2 separate regions of the Homo sapiens genome follow, and region 1 is linked to region 2. Evidence: promoter capture Hi-C in 16 types of primary human blood cells and fetal thymus (Javierre and others, 2016). All regions are on one chromosome and are shown on one strand. Each heading gives the region's core, a stretch centred on a gene start or on the middle of the fragment in contact. The rest is flanking DNA. Distances are from core to core; before and after follow the strand shown.

What was found. Contacts are between HindIII fragments. The CHiCAGO score rates a contact against its expected background, and 5 or more counts as called.
Region 1: a contact is called between a fragment that was not itself captured here and the fragment with the promoter of TRAFD1 in region 2, in 1 of 17 cell types (monocytes). The highest score is 5.6, in monocytes.

The regions. Positions count from the first base shown.
Region 1 is chr12:111,772,267-111,777,763 of GRCh38, reverse strand. All of the region lies in intron 1 of ALDH2 (aldehyde dehydrogenase 2 family member), which reads right to left. Among named protein-coding and RNA genes, the nearest start is that of ALDH2, 8.1 kb to the right of the region's middle. RefSeq lists enhancers at 2,167-2,356, 4,060-4,631. The HindIII fragment of the contact is 1,917 bases long and covers 361-2,277 here.
Region 2 is chr12:112,123,028-112,127,733 of GRCh38, reverse strand. TRAFD1 (TRAF-type zinc finger domain containing 1) reads right to left here and starts at 2,174. Exons shown (of 12, transcript NM_006700.3): 1 at 2,116-2,174. RefSeq lists enhancers at 1,648-1,717, 2,128-2,177, 2,155-2,449. The HindIII fragment of the contact is 16,634 bases long and covers 1,385-4,706 here.

The DNA of each region.
Region 1 (5,497 bases), core at 70-2,569, 350 kb after region 2:
AAACTGCCAGACCTAAGTTCAAGTTGGACTATGCCGTGCCTGGGCAGCAGGTCCTGGGTGTTTACTCCCCGACTCTGAAAGTCAGCTCCTCCTCGGGGTGCCCGTGGAGGAGAAGGGAGTTCCCGGGTCTGCCTGCTGGAAGATGGGGGCTCACGGGCGTGGGGGGCGGGCAGGCAGCTTGCAGCCATTGAGTAGGCATCCTTCTCTCCTTCCCCCTGTAGCACAGGCTCAGGGTTCACGCCTCACACACAACTGCCTCACAGCAAAGCACTTGGGTCAGCAGGGTTAGGAGAGTACAGAGAAGCACTAGGCTGGGCTGGGTGGAAGTAGGTCTGGTTGGCCTTGTACTATCCCCAAGCTTCTTCCTCCCCCACCCAGGGAGGAAGTCCACTCAGCCCTCTGCGTGTCATGGACATGGCTAACATTCACTAGCTACCCCTCAAGAACCAGCCCCACACCAGCGGTTCTGTGTACTTGGATTGTTCCCATTTAAACCTCATAGCAAACCTAGGAGGTGAACTTCATCCTCTCCACTTCACAGCAGAGGATGCTGGGCACAGAAGAGTCCAGCCACTTGGCTCTAGGTCACACAGCAGCAAAGGCAGAGCCAGGCTTTGAAGCCAGGTCTTTGGGACTCCAAGGCCTGTGTTTTTCCCAACTCCAACCTCCAGCCATAGCCCAGGTCTGCCTTCAAGGAGGTTGGAATTCTGATTCCCAAATCTCCATCTTTATGGTTTACTTACTGACTCAACACACGTTGATTTCACATTTTGATTCTGAGCCAGGCACAGTGGCTCATCCCTGTAATCCCAGCACTTTGGGAGGCCAAGGCAGGTGGATCATTTGAGGTCAGGAGTTCGAGACCAGCCTGGACAACATGGTGAAACCCTGTCTCTACTAAAAATGCAAAAATTAGCTGGGCATGGTGTCACTTGCCTGTAATCCCAGCTACTCGACAGGCTGAGGCAGGAGAATTGCTTGAACCTAGGAGATGGAGGTTGCAGTGAACCAAGATTGCACCACTGTACTCCAGCCTGGGCAACAGAGTCTCAAAAAAAAAAAAAATTTTATTCTGAATGTTGTAAAAAGCACCAACCTCAAAGCCAAACAGATCTGGGTTTGAATTTTTTTTCTTAAATAAAGGTGGGATTTTTTTTGTATTTTTTGTAGAGATGGGCTTTCACCATGTTGGCCAGGCTGGTCCCAAACTCCTGTGCTCAAGTGATCCTCCTGCCTTGGACTCCTAAAGTGCTGGGATTACAGCTGTGCGCCACCATGCCCGGCCTGGGTTTGAATTCTGACTCCATCCCTCACAGATTTGACCCTGGGCAAATCCCTTCACTTCCCAGATGCCTCATCGAGTACTTCTGGGGGCTGATGTGAAGGTTAAATGCAAGAACGAGTGTACAGTTCCTAAGCTAGGACCTTGCCCGCAGGGGGTCCTGCAGTGTTCTAGATCCTGCAGCTCTCTCGTAGCTTAAAGATTCTTAGGAGCGAGGGCCAGGTCTATACTCTTTATGTTGTTCCCTGCACCAAAGCATACTAAATTGTCCTGGATTTTAAACTTTATTTTGCAAAGATCAGGAAGTAGGAAGGGGAGAGGTGGGCCAGTCTGGCTAAAACCCCACCAGCCCCACCCCTTCCTCGCTGGGCTGGCCCCTCTGATTTAGATTAGGATCCTGGAAAGACCACTCCCTGGCATGTTTGCCTTTCAAAGCCCAGAATGTTCTCAATCACCCTTCACTGTTGAACCAGGCTGCATTTTCAACAACCCATCCTCCCTTCTCCACTGATAAGATAAACCTGGGTCTGCTGTAGGACGCTGGAAACCTCCTCCGGTTTACATTTCCCATTTCCCTTCTCCCAGAGCCAGACTCAGTGGCTTCCCTCCCCGGTGGGGGGCTGGGTAGGAACTGTTCTCACACTGAGTTTCTGCCAAAGTTCTGCTTCAAGTGAGGAGCAGTTTTCCTGAATAAACACCAGGCCAGACTCTGGGCCAAATGCTTTATAACCTCCTGACCAGAAACCCGAAGCTCGACTTACATAACACACGTAAACGCTCTTGGGCGGGGCGTGGTGGGGGGATGTCCTAGCTCCCACTTCCTCTTTATAGTTTCCAGAAGCACAGTGATGTCTGGAGTTGACATTTTCAATCTAGACTGTAGGCAAAACATAAAGATTTTCTATCAAAATACTCTAATTCCTACATATTTTAATAAATACATCTCACTTTGTTTTGTAAAAATTGGATTCATTCACCCACGCATTCCATAAGCTTTCACTGACAGCCCTGGCCACTCCAGCACAGGGAGTCCAAGAGCCAAGTCCTGGCTTGTGGGAGCTGAAGTCCTGGTGAGGAGAGGGCGCAGGAAACAAGCAAAACCAAGCAAGTGAGAAGCAGGAGGAGGCTTGGCCAGCTGAGGGGTCTGAAGGGTGACTGCTAGGAAGAGCCTGGGGACAGGAGGAGTGGCTGCAGGGTGTAGGTGAGGGGAGAGCGGGGGGCTCGCGATTCTACCTGCTGTGTGCCAGGATCTGCACTTGATGCTGGGAGGACCCAGGAGACCAGAGAACCGGGACACTGCCGTGTCCTTTCTAAGTGGGGGTAATAGACTTGCTGTTTGCTAACTCGCTTTTCTCAGTTTCTCTTGGACGTTATTCCACAGGCAGCTCTGCCTCATGTTAAGCCACATAGCGTTCCTCAACACGGTCAGGCCATGGTTTATTTAACGATTTCCTACAAATGCACTTTTAGGACAAGTGATCGCCATTCCAGCAACAGCTGTGGCGAACCCTTTCACATGCGTTTTTCCAAACATGGGGCAGATTACTGTGTAGAAATTAGAACTACTGAGTTAGAGGGTAACAGGATCCCTCTTCACCTTGGCTATCTTGTTCTCCATGCCAGGCAGAGACTTAGTGGTGATTGTGGTGGTCGAGGGGCTCAGGAGCTGGGGCAGGGTCAGTGCCCAGAGCAGGACAACTGGACCTTGGGGGCGGAGGTCAGACCAAGGCCAGGAGAGAATGAAATTCTGGCCACCACCCCCAGACCTCATGACAATGGGTGGTTATCATCTGCCCAGGGTCTCCAATGAAAGGCTAAACTGTGTTCAGTAATCATCTGCCCAGGGTCTCCAATGAAAGGCTAAACTGTGTTCAGTAGTTCTGATTTAAGGAGGCAGGATACATTCTAGAAAGATTTCAGTTCAAGCTTTGATGCATGAGAGAACTGGACATGTTACCTAGGAAATCCCCGTCCCTGGAACACCGTATTTTCCCAAAGAGTGAGCAAGCTAATGGCGCGGTTTTGCAGCCTGGGATGATCCCAACGGCATGTGCTCTTTCACTTGCTAATCTGCGGTTAGGTGATTATGTCCGATGGAAAGCAGATGCCATTGCTTGTATTACAAGATTCCAGGGAGTAAAGTTCAAGACAAACACGGAATGCCACACACATTCCCTCTTCCCCACACATAATCCAGAACCCCAGGTTAGTTGGGGATCAAGGCGAGGGGCAGTCATCTCCCCAGGCTTGCTCGGGACACTCCCGAACCAAGACTAACCCAGGCAGACAGACGCCAGCCCTCTGCCCCACTCCCCCACCCCAGGGCCTTTTTTCACCACTTCAAAGATGGGAGTTTCAATTCCACTTTGGACTGTTTGCCAGACAGGCGCGGTTTCAACTTGTTCTGCTTACGGTTTGGCAACCTCTATCTTGCTGCAATGGACTTTCCCTGAGCCAGTTTCACCACTCCCTATGCGTCCCCATGTTCCCACTCTTTTAAACTTCCAAATACTTTGCAATAAGGTCCTTTTGAGTAGAAATACTGGGTTCTCATTAAGCAACCCTTTACCTCACTTCTGGAGCACAAAACTGTAAACATGGTTTCGTAAATGGCAACCATTCATTATTCAATAAATATTTACCCAACAGTGATCCTATGCTAAGGTGCTAGGTGCCAGGAATGCAAAAGTGAACAATACAAACATGGCTCCTCCTCTCTGATTTTAAAATTCTATTCAATTGTCCCTTAAATGTTTATTAATACATTCTTATGGTCTGATCATTATTCAGGGAGGTCAAGTTCACATTAAGTTATAAGTTTGAAAGTGGGCTTCAAATTCTGCCCTGCCCAACCTTCACACACATGCCCTTAGTTATACTTAATGTGAACTTGACCTCCCTGAGCCTCAGTTTCCTCACCCGCAAGACGGGACAGCAATACTACCAGGCTTATAGAGTTGCGGGTAGGATGAAAGGTGAAATGCAGGTAGAAGTCCTCAGTAGAGGGCCTGATGGAAAATAGGTGATGAATAATCATGATTACTGGAGCAGGGAATACATACACATGTCCACAACATGTAAATTCTCAACTCAGCTTGACCTCAGGAGCACAAACATTATTATAGCCCTGTCACCTGAAACTCAAGTGTGTCCCACAGATTCTGGGCAGGCAGGAAGTATTGAATGCCCATTTGTGTTCTCTGATTAAAAACACGGGCCGGCCACGGTGGCTCATGCCTGTAATCCCAGCACTTTGGGAGGCTGAGGCGGGCGGTGTCACTGGGCCCCACCACAACCTCCGCCTCCTGGGTTCAAGCGTTTCTCCTGTCTCAGCCTCCCAGGTAGCTGGGATTACAGGTACATGCCACCACACCGGCCAATTTTTGTATTTTTAGTAGAGACGGGGTTTCATCATATTGGTCAGGCTGGTCTCCACCTGAGGTGATCCGCCTGCCTCGGCCTCCCAAGGTGCTGGGATTACAGGCATGAGCCACCACACCCAGCCTGCCTAAATCTATTTCTTTTTGTTTTTTTTTTTTGAGACGGAGTCTCACTCTGTCACTAGGCCTCACTCTTATGCCAGGGCATGAGCTGCCATGCCCGGCCACCTAAATCTATTTCTATAGAGGCTCTTAAAACTCCTAGCTGGATGTTGTGGCCCATGCCTATAATCCCAGTGCCTCTAGTGGCTGACGCAGGAGGATCGCTTCAGCCCAAGAGTTTGAGGTTGCAGTGAGTTATGATCATGCCATTGCACTCCAGCCTGGGCAACAGAGCAAGACCCTGTCTCAAAAAAAAAAAAAAAAACCAAAAAAAAAAGAGGCCAGGTGCAGTGGCTCACGCCTGTAATCCCAGCACTTTGGGAGGCCAAGGCGGGTGGATCACAAGGTCAGGAGTTTGAGACTAGCCTGGCCAACATGGTGAAACCCCAACTCTACTAAAAATACAAAATTAGCTGGGCATGGTGGCGGCACCCGTAATCCCAGCTACTCAGGAGGCTGAGGCAGGAGAATCGCTTGAACCCGGGAGGCAGAGGTTGCAGTGAGCCGTGATCGTGCCACTGCACTCCAGCCCGGGCGACAGAGTGAGACTACATCTCAAAAACAAAAACAAAAACAAAGGACACTCCTAAAGAAGTCATCAACCTGTACAATCAATAGGGAGATTCAGTCAGCACAAAGTCACTCCAAAACACAGGTTTTGGCTCATTCTGTA
Region 2 (4,706 bases), core at 925-3,424:
AGATCACGCCACTGCACTCCAGCCTGGGCGACAGAGCGAGACTCCCTCTCAAAAAAAACAAAAAACAAAAAAGCAAAAAATTAGGTGGGTATGGTGGCACATGCCTGTAATCTCAGCTACTTGGGAGGCTGGGGTGGGAGGCTGAGGTAGTCCCAGCTACTTGGGAGGCTTGAGCCCAGGAGGTCGAGGCTACAGTGAGTGAGTTGTGATCACACCACTGCACTCCAGCCGGGGTGACAGAGTGAGACCCTGTCTCAAAGAAAAAGAAGACCATACTGTGTGCCACTGTGCCCTGGCACTAAAAATACTTTACAAAATAAGGAAATATAGTCTCTGATAAAGCGATTTAGTGGTAGAGAAAAACAATAAGCAAAAAAATACATATAACTTGAGTATTGTGATGGAAAAGTATACTGACAAATAAATGGGGGCGGAATAGAGGCAAATCTACTTTAGGTAGATAAGAGTGGTCAGGGAAGAACTTTCTGGGGAGACGACATTTAAATTAAGAACTGAAGTACAAGAGCCAACCACGAAAAGACAAAGATAGAGGATGGGAATGCGGGGAAATCCATCCAGGCAGTGGGAAGGGCAAAAGGCCTAAAAGCAATGAAAGAGAAAGTAAAGGCAGATCTGGAAGAGCATAATAAAAAAGGGGAATGACTCAAGAAGGTCTTGTCATATCAGACAGAAAGAATATTGGATTCGATTCCAAGCTCAATGGTAAACCACTGAAGGGCTTTAAACTAGGGAATGACATAATTCAAGACACCCATTCTGGGCTGGGCGCAGCAGCTCACGCCTGTAATCCCAGCACTTTGGGAGGGCGAGGTGGGCAGATCACTGGAGGTCTGGGGTTCGAGACCAGCCTGGCCAACATGGCAAAACCAAGTCTCTACTAAAAATACAAAAATTAGTTGGGCGTGGTGACGGGCGCTTGTATCCCAGCTACTCAGGAGGCTGAGGCAAGAGAATCACTTAAACCCAGGAGGCGGAGGCTGCAGTGAGCTGAGATCTCGCCACTGCACTCCAACCTGAACAACAGAAGGTGACTCCATCTCAAAAAAAAAAAAAGATATTCACTCTGATATGAAATGGCAACTAAGGAAGGCTGTCCGACTGATTTCAGGTGTGCTCTATTCCAGCCCACTCTGGCCAACTCTAAGGCCAGAGCTCAGATGTAGCAGGTGCTTGCTTTTCTAGATGCAAGGAGACTGGGGGTAGCCTGCAGGGTCCCCCTCTGGGGGTCAAGGTCTGGCTGGTTCTGCCAGATTTAACCTCTCTGGGCCTCAGATTCTTCAGGCAGAGGACTGACAATACTTCAAAGGGTCAAGGAAACGGGCGAATGCACGGAAGAGTTGAGGCACAGAAAAGTCTTCAAGCTTATAAGGAGCCTGTTGGGGGTCAGCTAGATCTCTCTAGTCCGCAGAGGGGACCGTCCCTCTGCCCGAGGCGGCGGAGCTTCCCCTGCCGGGTCCAGATACCCCAAGGCAGTTTCCAATCGCCCCCGTCCCCAGGAAGGTCGGTGATGGGGAGTGAAGAAGTAAGCGGCTTCTCAAATAATAGCAGTTGCCAAACGCTTACCGGGAAAATCTTTTAATCCCGACTACAATCCTAAGAGGTGAAAGTCTTGGTCCCCACTTTAGAGGCTACGAAAGCGGAAGGCCACCTGAGTTTTCCACAGCACCAGCGGGTCGGAGTGCGAGCTCGGACTCGGGTCCTTCGGCTTCGAGGCCGCATTAGGCCACTCGCGACCCCCCACGCCGGCAGCTCGAGGCTCGGACTCTAGGCCCAGGCCGGCACTGAGCCCAGCTCCGCCCGGGACGCGGTGGTCACAGCGGCGCTGCGAACGACGCCCGCTTCCCGGCTCACCAGACCAACCTAGGCCGCGAAGGGGGCGGCGTCGCCGGGGGCTGCCAAGGCGCCGGTTCCCTGAGGAGAAAGCGCGGCCTCCTCCAGGTGCCTGAGATGCCGCCGCGCGGGCATCCTCTCCTCACAGCCGCGACCCCGGGCCCAGAGACCCCTCGCCCACACACCCCTCCCTTGGGATGCTGGACCCTTCCTAAACTGGAGGCCACAGGGGATCTCCAGCCGCGTGCCGCCGCTACACCTCACCAGGGACGAGAGGAGAAACGCTGAGTTGACACACTAGCTGCAGACACGGAGCCTCCTCTGTCAGACCCCGCACTGAACAACGGCCCTCAGAGCTGCCTCACCACTTCCGCCCATCGCGGAGGAGCGCGCCCATTGGCCAGGGGCGGCTCCAGCTGTCGGCCCATTGGATAACACCGTTGTCGCTCCCAGGGCCCCGCCTTCTGCGCGTCGATTGGCTCCCTGGAGGCCCACGGGGGCGTGTCCCTGGAAGCCCTGGCCCCTGCACATCTGGAACCAGAGGCACGAAGCTGAGCTGTGAGCCTGTTGCTGAGTTTAGCAACTGTCCCCGACACAGGCTAATAATATTTGCATGAATAATTCTGTACAAACATTACTAATATGCTTAATATATTGAGATAATTAATGGTATTTGTTCTTTTCTCATGGGCCGTTAATACTTATTAGTCATTCTTATTGCTATGATAATGCCCTTGTGCAAGACTTCTGCAGATCTGTGACCATATTTTTTGAGCACTTTGCTTTTTTGCAGTGGAAGAATGAGAGCCTGAGATGCAGGTTTGAGAGCTAGTTTCTCCACTTGCTGCCTGAATGGATTCCCTGAGCTTCTCTTACCTCATGTATAATAAAGGAGAGAATAATTATATAAGTATAACCAAGCACATATTACAAACCAACTTATAATTATATAAGTATAACCAAGCACATATTACAAACAATACAGCAATTTAAAATTATGATTCCATTGCAGATTATAATTGCAAAATATGGAGGCCAAGGCGGGTGGATCTCTTGAGCTCAGGAATTAGAGACCAGCCTGGGCAATATAATGAAACCATATCTCTACAAAAAAAATACAAAAATTAGCCAGGCGTGGTGGCACGCACCTGTAGTTCCACCTCCTTGGGAGGCTGAGGTGGAAGGATCCCTCGAGCCCAGGAGGCAGGGCTGGAGTGAGCCCTGATCATGCTACCGCACTCCAGCCTGGGGGACAGAGAAAGACCCCGTCTCAAAAATAATATAATATAATATAATATAATATAATATAATATAATATAATATAATTGCAAAATGTTAATGAGATAGTACTAAGCAAGAAAAGCATCTAACAGGCTGGGCGCGGTGGCTCACGCCTGTAATGCCAACACTTTGGGAGGCAGAGGCTGGTGGATCACCTGAGGTCAGGAGTTCAAGACCAGCCTGGCCAACATGGTGAAACACCGTTTCTACTAAAAATACAAAAATTAGCTGGCCGTGGTGGCAGGCGCCTATGATCCCAGCTACTTGGGAGGCTGAGACAGGAGAATCGCTTGAACCCAGGAGGTGAAGGTTGCAGTGAGCCGAGATTGAGCCACTGCACTCCAGCCTGGGCAACAAAATCAAAACTCCGTCTCAAAGCAATATTTATAACAAGATAAAATATTTAGCTTAAATATGCAATATAACTTGTGTGATTCCAAACATATAAAGTTTAAAACCAGGGAAAATTAACCTAAAGTGAGAGAAGTAAGTAACTGGTTCCATTCAGAGGGTATATAGCCTGTAAGGAGATATGAGAAAGATTTTCTAGAAATGTTTATATCTTGATCAGCAAAGTGATTAACACAGATGGATTAATTAGTAAATAGTTATTAAGCTACACACCTATATCTTAAGCACTTTACATTGTATGTTACATTTTAATAACAAAACTTACTGGAGTTCAAAAGAAAGCACAATCATTAACAGTTAAAAAGCAATCAGAAAAAATGTGTATTAATATGAATTAAGTATATTAATGTATTAAGTATATATAAAGAAAAAAGATAACCATATAGTGTGTTCTTTTATGAATAAGGTGTTTTAACTCAGCATAATGTTTTTGAGGTTTATCCATGCTGTTGATAATATCAAGTCTATTCCTTTTCAGTGCCAAGTAGCATAGCACATGGATATGCCACAATTTATACTGACAAACATTAGAGCTGGTTCTAGTTTTTGGCCAGGCATGGTGGCTCACGCCCACAATCCCAGCACTTCGGCAGGTCAAGGTGGGTGGATCGCCTGAGCTCAGGAGTTCCAGACCAGCCTGGGCAACATAACAAAACCCTGTCTCTACAAAAAATACAAAAATGTAGCCAGGCGTGGTGGCTCATGCGTGTAGTCCCAGCTACTTGGGAGGCTAAGGTGAGAAGATTGCTTGAGCCTGGGAGGCAGAGGTTTCAGCGAGCTGATATGGCACCACTGCACTCCAGCCTGGGTGACAGAGCAAGACTCCATCTCAAAAAAAAAAATTGATTCTAGTTTAAGCAGTAGTAACCATTCTTGTGCAAGTCTTTGGGGATATATGTTTTTATTTCTCTCAGATAAACACTTGGAAGTGGGATTGCTGGATCATACGGTAAGTCTATGTTTTAACTTTACAAGAAACTACCAAACTGTTTTCCGAAGTGATTGCACAACTAAACGTTCCCAACAGTAGTGTAGGAGAGTTTCAGTTGCTCCGTATAGTCATCCACTTGGTATAAACACATTTTGAATAAATAAACAGGAGAATGGCAGTCCTGTCTTCCGTTGCCTGAGTGACCCAGAAGCTCCTCTAAATTCATAGTTCA